Regions from separate parts of the Homo sapiens genome. Here regions 1 and 2 are each linked to region 3. The links are contacts of gene promoters, found by promoter capture Hi-C in blood cells and fetal thymus (Javierre and others, 2016). All regions are on one chromosome and are shown on one strand. Each heading gives the region's core, a stretch centred on a gene start or on the middle of the fragment in contact. The rest is flanking DNA. Distances are from core to core; before and after follow the strand shown.

Region 1 (2,700 bases), core at 101-2,600, 170 kb after region 3:
TTTGGCCACCACATATTACACGGCTGCAATCTGGATGGGTCACCTTCCATGCCTGGTGCCCAGCAGTCATCCTGGAAGCGCCCTTTGAAGCCCTGTGATTAACAAAGATGCCTTTGCCTCTTTTCCTGGCTGGATCTCATGTTTTCTGTATCCCATTAGATATCTTACTTAGCTTACTGTCTCTTTTGGTAGGACACACATTCTAGTAACTTCTTTTGAAAGAGTATGTGAGAAGTCAAATTTTAATTGACTGTGTATTTTTCCTCATAGTTAATTATATGGTCAGAGGGGGCTGGAAGTCATCTTTCCTCATCAGCTTTTGAAGGCATTTGCTGTTTGAAGCCACATAAATGGAACTTCCTGGTTTTTTCTGTATTGGCACTTTTTTGGGATAAAAGAAGGCATTCTTGAGGCTTTGAGTCATTCTGTTACATTTTTGGTTTGCTTTGATTTAACACATGTTGTGTTTTAAGAACAAAATGAGGGCCAGGCATGGTGGCTCACGCCTGTAATCCCAGCACTTTGGGAGGCTGAGGCGGGTGGATCATTTGAGGTCAGGAGTTTGAGACTAACCTGGCCAACATGGTGAGACCCTGTCTCCACTAAAAATACAAAAATTAGCCAGGCATGGTGGTACATGCCTATAGTCCCAGCTACCAGGGAGGCTGAGGCAGGAGAATCACTTGAACCTGGGAGGCAGAGGTAGCAGTGAGCCAAGATTGTGCCACTGCACTCCACCCTGGGTGACAGAGTGAGACTCCATCTCAAAACAGACAAACGAAAAGAACAAAATGAAGAAAAAGAAATGAAACCATCTTGTACATGTGACTCCAAGTGAGGGAACTTTATAAAATAAATCTTTAGAGTAACATTGTTAAGCACATTGTTTAAGACCAAGTGTAACTTCTGTTGTCTGACTTTTTTGTTTTGGCCTATGTATGTGAATGAAGAAAGTTAACATCCCTTTTTCCCCTTCAGTGCTGGATGCTTTATCCCACTCCCCTGATGTAACCCACGTTAATTGTATGTAGTGTATTCTTCCTTTTTGTTTTTCTAATATATATTAGAGATGGAGTCTTGCTGTGTTGCCCAGGCTGGTCTCGAACTCCTGGGTTCAAGCGATCCTCCTGCCTCCACCTCCCAAAGTGCTGGGATTACAGGCATGAGCCACCGCGCCCAGCCTATTCTTAAAGGGCTTTTTAAGTCTCACTATACGTGTTAGTCTTTTAAAGCTGTTTGTTTTACAAATATGATTAAGTATACTAGATCATATTTGTTTTTTTGTTAAGCTCTTTATTATGGAGTATTTCAGACATACACTTGAGTAGAAAGTATAGTATAATAAATTCCCATGCACTCATACCCAACTTCAACAATTATTAACTTAAAAAAATACCATTTATTTGTTGAAGAAACCAGATTCTATTTGGCCAATTGATTCTTTATAGTATTCTTTAACTTCTTTAACTTGTTCTTTTAATCTTTGTATTTCCTATAAATTAGTTGTTAGATCTAGAGGCTTGATTAGATAGATTCAGGTTCAATTTTATTTTGGCAAACATACCTCATATGTGATGCTGTGTATTTTCTATTGTATCATATAAAGGGGCACATAAAGTCTGATTATTCTGCTATTAGTGATGTTAAGATTGATGAACAGGTGCAAATTTTGTCAGATGTATCCTTTACAGAGTTTCTTGGCAACATTATACCTAATGGTTTTAACAGCTGTTCCTTACATGTGAAATTACTGTAGTTATTTTCTTATGCCCTCCACTTTGTTTCCTCCTCAATAATAAATCAAGTCATATTAACAAATGAAGGAATTTCATTTAATGATTTGGAGCTTGACTAATGAACTTACTTCTATTTCAAGTAATTTGAAATTTAAAGTAAATTTGATTTAAAATTTGTCTTTGTTTTTTAGCTAGCCAAATGCTTTTTTACTCATCCTATAAAATACAGACTTAATATAGCATCACATTTTTTAAAACAAATGAAGTTGAATCTGAATATATTAGAATCAGAAGGAACTTTTTGCTACAGATTGCATGTTTTACCTTCGAGTGCTAGAAACTGTTACTTTAGAAGGTTATGTAGTGGTTAGTTGAGCAGGAATCATAAAGCAAATTAAGGTAAATGGTGGACTCTTAACTTCAGGATGGTAGTTACCTCTAATGGAAGGCAGGAGGATGGGATTGATGAGATGGACATAGGGGACTTGAAAAGTACTGGTTCTATTTTTTTTCTTAGGTTGGGTAATAATTACATGGGTGTTCAGTTTATTTTTTTATTCCTTAAAGTTTACATATGCTTTGGGAGGCTGAGGTAGGCAGATCACAAGATCAGGAGTTTGAGACCAGCCTGGCCAACATGGCGAAACCCCATCTCTACTTAAAAAAAAAAACGAAAATTAGCCGGGCATGGTGGTGGGCACCTGTAATCCCAGCTACTTGGGAGGCTGAGGCAGGAGAACCACTTGAACCGGGGAGGCGGAGGTTGCAGTGAGCCGAGATCGTGCCATTGCACTCCAGCCTGGGTGACAAGAGCAAAAAAAAAAATTTACATATGCTGTATTTTATAATGTGTAATGTATTTCAAAATTTAAAAGAGTAAATGGACTAAATTACTAACAATTTAAAATATGTTTCAAGTGATTCATTAGATCTTAAACATAAAACCTTTTTATTTCCACAAATA
Region 2 (2,700 bases), core at 98-2,597, 200 kb after region 3:
TTTGAAGTTACTTTTGAAGCAAAACGTGGATGTCGAAGCAGAGGTAAGTAAACTTGAAAAATATTTTAAGTAAACATTTATTTCCTAGAAATAATACTTCTATATCATGAGATGGATTGTTTTTATTTTTGAAATTTAGTATCCAACTAAGGCTTTTCTGATTGAAAATAAAAATCTGACAGAGGCAACTTGAAACAGTTCTTGTCTTTCTGTGATCCTTTATATTTTAGCCATAGTCCTAGGTAAAGATAGGAGTTGAGTTTCATATTACTGTGGTGTAACCATCATGTTTTAGGAGCTAAAGGTGGGCTTGTCCAAGAATCAAGAATCATACTAGGGAAATTGAAGGACGAGGAATATAAATCCACTGGGTCAGAATCTTTCCTGATCTCTGTGACAGTTGGAAACTTTTTTTGTTGTTGTTTTGTCATAACTGAATTAGCATTTTTTAAGTTTTATTGTTTCTTGACCTTAATGTGAATATTTGAAGAGTTCATAATGCATGTTTATCACCATATGTGTGTATATATGCTTCATTTAATTTAGAATATATTCTTATAAAAGAGAAACACTTCTTAATATCATTGGAGTCTTGACTGGGGATCTCTCTGTATCTCTATTGTGAAGGATGTCTTGCTTTGTCTTACTTAACTACTCATTACTAAAAATGTATTTGAATCACACTTATTTTAGTATAGTGCAAGATTATTTAGAATAAATCAAATTCTAGCAAATTTAAATTAGGCAGAATGTTGCAATTTTGTCTAAAAAACACTCTCATCTGTGAGTGCTTAATGAGGACTTGAATTGCTGAGGGCTAAATTGGTGGATCAACCTGATTTTACTAATTAAAAAATTTAAAAAGATGCATATTGGAAAAGAGAAGCCTTTTCTAGTCTTATGTTACTTTTTCTTTTTTCTCTAATTGTATGTATTTTGAATTGTTGGACAGCTACTAAAGAGCCTGTGGTTTTTAAGGGTAAACAGGTCATCTATAATGTTGGAATTTTCTGCTGCCTAGAAATAACTTGAAATTAATTAATTAATTAATTAATTTTTGAGGCAGAGTCTCACTCTGTTGCCCAGGCTGAAGTGCAATGGCGTGTTCTCAGCTCACTGCAACCTCTGCCTCCTGGGATCAAGTGATTCTCATGCCTCAGCCTCCCCAGTAGCTGCGATTATAGGCGCCTGCTACCACACCTGGGTAATTTTTGTATTTTTAGTAGACACAGGGTTTTGCCATGTTGGCCGGGGTGGTCTCGAGCTCCTGACCTCAAGTGATGTGCCTGCCTCAGCCTCCCAAAGTGCTGAGATTACAGGTGTGAGCCACCGCGCCTAAGAACTTGAATTTTAAATTAGCATATTAGATATCTATGAACTATACAATAGTTTTATTACTATGATGTCTTTATGAATGAGATTATATAATTTGATGTTACTTTTGCACTAGTAATTTTTAAGTTGCATCTTTCTTGATTGTAAGTTTAGGAACCTAGTGTGTGTTACAAGTTTTGTTTTGGTAATTAAAGTTAATTTTAGTGTTTTGTATATAGAATATAATTACTTTATTTTCTTATTATTTTAGTTTTATTTGGTGGAATGGTATGAAATTTCTTGAGTTGAATATCTGATTTTTAATTTAGTGAATCCAGAAACTCCAATAGCAACAACTACTGAAAAACCAAAGTCCTTCTGATTACAGCTAATAAGGCAAGAAGCTGAAAAACCACATTTCTTTTTGCCTAAGTTTCTTTTTAAAGTTGCTTTCAGATTCAGAATTTAATCACCAACCTGGCAGCATGGGATTATTCATATATTTGCGTTTCTAGAGATTTTTGTTCACATGAGAGGTTTTGCAGAATGGGTTTGCGGCTGTGGAATTAGGAATGAAATTGGCACTGTTTTTCAAGAGTAATTTTCTTTCTTTCCTTTTTTTTTTTTTTTTTTTTTGAGACAGAGTCTCCCCCTGTTGCCCAGGCTGGAATGCAGTTGAGTGTTCTTGGCTCACTGCAACCTCCGCCTCCCGGTTCAAGTGATTGTTGTGCCTCAGCCTCCCGAGTAGCTGAGATTACAGATGTGCACCATTACGCTGGGCTAATTTTTGTATTTTTAGTAGAGTTGGGGTTTCGCCATGTTGGCCAGGCTGATCTCTAACTCCTGACCTCGAGTGATTTCGCTTACCTCAGCCTCCTGAAATGCTGGGATTACTGGCATGAGCCCCATGCCTGGCCAGATTTTTTTTTTTTTTTTGATACAGGGTCTTGCTCTGCCCTGACTGGAGTGCAGTGGCATGATTATGGCTCACTGCAGCCTTGAATTCCCAGGCTCAAACAATTCTCCCACTTCAGCCTCCCAGGTAGCTAGGACTACAGGTGTGTGCCATCATGCTTGGCTAATTTTTAAAAATTTTTATAAAGAGATGGTCTCACTATGTTGCCCAGTTTGGTCTCAAACTCCTGGACTCAAGTGATCCTCCTGCCTTGGCTTCCCAAAGTGTTGGAATTACAAGTGTGAGCCATTGCGCCCAGCCTCTTTTTTTCTTAATTGTACTCAAATACAAAACAAACAGTTAGTTAATACTATAAACATGGTATGATGGGAGTTGAAGTGAGTCTTGGTAGTCTAGATATTTATAAATAGTTTTTTGTTTTTTGTTTTTTTTTTTTTGAGACGGAGTCTTGCTCTGTCGCCCAGGCTGGA
Region 3 (2,700 bases), core at 91-2,590:
ACTTTATTCGTGTTGGTGTCCTGTGTAAAGCAGAAACTAAGTACTTGACCAGAAGACAAAGTGAATATAGCATAGTTCACTGCAACCTGGATGTTTTCAACTGAAATCTATGTTTTATCCACTTTTTTAAAAAAGCCAATGCTGGTGGGGGGACTAACCACACCTTATGCCACCAAGTAGCGCTTTTGTTTCCTGCGAAGCTTATTTATTGAGATATCGTTTTGTAATACTATCTAGATACTGTGTGCTGCGATTCCTGTTTAAAGGAATCTCATTGCAGCTAAGACTACAGAAAACATGGTTCATAGTACTTCTCAAATCGCAAAGCTTGAGCTCCTTCCTCCTCCTCTTCCTCCCTCCCCTGGTCCCCGCTGCGTCCCCATCGCCCCGGAAAATAAAGCACACGCCGGATTTTCGGACGCATCATTGAGAGGCGGAGGGAGAGGAGGTAGTCTTCGAATTGTTGGACTTGCTATCCCATTCTGCCTGTGCAAAATAAACCCCCATAGTAAAATAATCTTAACCCGTGATAAAAATCGAGGACCCAATTCTCTTTGGTTCGCCTCTCTCCATCGCTATAAACTTCACTGCGGCCCTCAATGCACTCATTTCTACTCCAGAGCCGCCCTACCTGTGCCGAGACCCCCATTTGCAGCATGAGTTACTCTATGACCTTGGGCCCGCTCCCCTCCCAAACTGAAGGCTGTAAAACCAAGACCCCACATCGCGCCCCGCAAACTGCAGAGGCCTCCAGGCTCAGGCCGGGTCAGCGGGTTGCGCCAGGAGGCGGCGAGGGACTGGCTCCGGTGAAGCGCCGGGAAGAGAAAACGCAGGGGGCGGAGACGGGGCCCGGAGCTACCTGCGGGACCAGCACTGGCGCTGCCCCGGTGCTAGCAATGGCTGCGCGCCACCTCGGGGCTCCCGGAGCCCTCGCGGCAGTGCTGGGAACTCCGGCCCTGCCCCGTCGGCGGTCACGACCCCTTATGAACTTCGACCGCCCAGCAAACAGCGGCAGGTGGTGCGCGGACACGCGAGCACGTTAGCTGCCTACCTCAAGCGACGGCGTCTTGGAGCCTAGAGCCTCCCACCTCCCTCCCAGGGGCGCGAAGAGCTGGGACCGGAGCAGTAGGAAGGGGCGTGCGAGGCAACACGCCACCGAGGGTGGAACAGGAAGAGGGAGAACTGTCCGCTCCCTGAAGGGGCTGGCAAAAGAGAGGTGAAGACACAGGCGGCGGGGACCGTCAGGGACGCTCGCGTACCTTCCTTTTGCCTGGCGGAGGGTCAGACTAGCGCCAGCGGATCGCCTCACATCCGGGTATCAGGAGACACTCAGCTGCTTCTGCTGCGGCCGCCGCCTCCCCCGCGGCGCAAACACCAAACTTCCGGCGACGACGGCGACGCCTCGCTCGTCAGATGGGAGTTACCTGTGACCGTCTTGGGTGCGCTTGCGCAACGCTCCTCTTCAGCCCTAACCGGCTCAGCTGACGTGCCCAGAAGACGAAGATGGCCGCCACGCTCACTGCGTGTCACGCAGTTTTTCACCCCGGCCCGGACGGCTGGGCGTCGAGGAAAGGCGAGCTAGTGTCCATCCTCAGCGCAGGCGCGGTGGGAGGCCTAGCGCGCGCGCCTCCGCGGGTGGTCGCCTGGCAGGGAAGTGGCGGCGCCCCCTAGCGGCGGCCGCTTGTCGTTCCTGGGGTCATCGCTTTGAGCTGAAAACCACCCAGGCCCCCAGCGGTTGTGGTTTACCTTGGAAATTTGTCGCAACTGGTTGCCATGTAGGTTTTGGCTGCTTCTGTCTGCGATGTATAATCCAAGTGCCTTTGGTCTTCCATATGAGCCAATGTAAAGAAGGAGGGTGGGGCCGGGCGCGGTGGTTCACGCCTGTAATCCCAGCACTTTGGGAAGCAGAGGCGGGTGGATCATTTGAGGTTAGGAGTTCGAGACCAGCCTGGCCAACATGGCCAACATGGTGAAACCCCGTCTCTACTAGAAATACAAAAATTAGCCGGGTGGTAGTGGCGTGCGACTGTAATCCCAGCTACTCGAGAGGCTGAGGCGGGAGAATCCCTTGAGCCTGGGAGGCGGAGGTTGTGGTGAGCTGAGACTGGGCCACTGCACTCTAGTCTGGACGAGTGAGACCCTGTCTCAAATAAAAAAAAAAGGAGGGTGCAGTCCCTACACTGCCCTCCAGCACCTCCAAAAAATGCAGGGCTTCGCCCTCTCCTTGCACACTTTCTTCCTGTGTATCAGAGTGCAAGAATCATCAGAAATTGTAAAATATTCTGCTAGACTTAGTCAGACTGAGTGTTCAGACAAAGCTTTGGCTCGCTCTTGGACGCCTCTAGAGATAGAATCCAAGATTCTATCACTAGGATTCATGGTTCCCACACTTCTTTCTTTTGTGACAGGAAGGATCTTGCTGTGTAGCCCTGGCTGGTGTGCAGTGGCACAGTAACGGCTCACTGCAGCCTCGACTTGGGCTCAAGCGATCCCACCTGCCTCAGCCTCCCTGAGAACTGCATGTATGAAGCCCACGACACCATGCCAGGCTAATTTTTTTTTTTTTTTTTGAGATGGAGTCTCACTCTTGTCACCCAGGCTAGAGTGCAATGGCACGATCTCGGCTCACTGCAACCTCCGCCTCCCAGGTTCAAGGAATTCTCCTGCCTCAGCCTCCTGAGTAGCTGGGACTACAGGTGC

Evidence for each region. The method cuts DNA at HindIII sites, captures the fragments that hold promoters and counts their contacts. A CHiCAGO score of 5 or more calls a contact.
Region 1: a contact is called between a fragment that was not itself captured here and the fragment with the promoter of ESCO1 in region 3, in 1 of 17 cell types (neutrophils). The highest score is 5.0, in neutrophils.
Region 2: a contact is called between a fragment that was not itself captured here and the fragment with the promoter of ESCO1 in region 3, in 1 of 17 cell types (activated CD4 T cells). The highest score is 6.5, in activated CD4 T cells.

What each region holds. Positions count from the first base shown.
Region 1 is chr18:21,769,438-21,772,137 of GRCh38, forward strand. The region is part of intron 3 of MIB1 (MIB E3 ubiquitin protein ligase 1); the gene reads left to right. Among named protein-coding and RNA genes, the nearest start is that of MIB1, 30 kb to the left of the region's middle. The HindIII fragment of the contact is 4,780 bases long and covers 1-2,700 here.
Region 2 is chr18:21,803,972-21,806,671 of GRCh38, forward strand. It overlaps MIB1 (MIB E3 ubiquitin protein ligase 1), which reads left to right. Exons shown (of 21, transcript NM_020774.4): 10 at 1-43. Among named protein-coding and RNA genes, the nearest start is that of MIR133A1, 20 kb to the right of the region's middle. The HindIII fragment of the contact is 5,677 bases long and covers 1-2,700 here.
Region 3 is chr18:21,599,364-21,602,063 of GRCh38, forward strand. ESCO1 (establishment of sister chromatid cohesion N-acetyltransferase 1) reads right to left here and starts at 1,341. Exons shown (of 12, transcript NM_052911.3): 1 at 1,260-1,341. RefSeq lists an enhancer at 1,047-1,566. The HindIII fragment of the contact is 1,991 bases long and covers 326-2,316 here.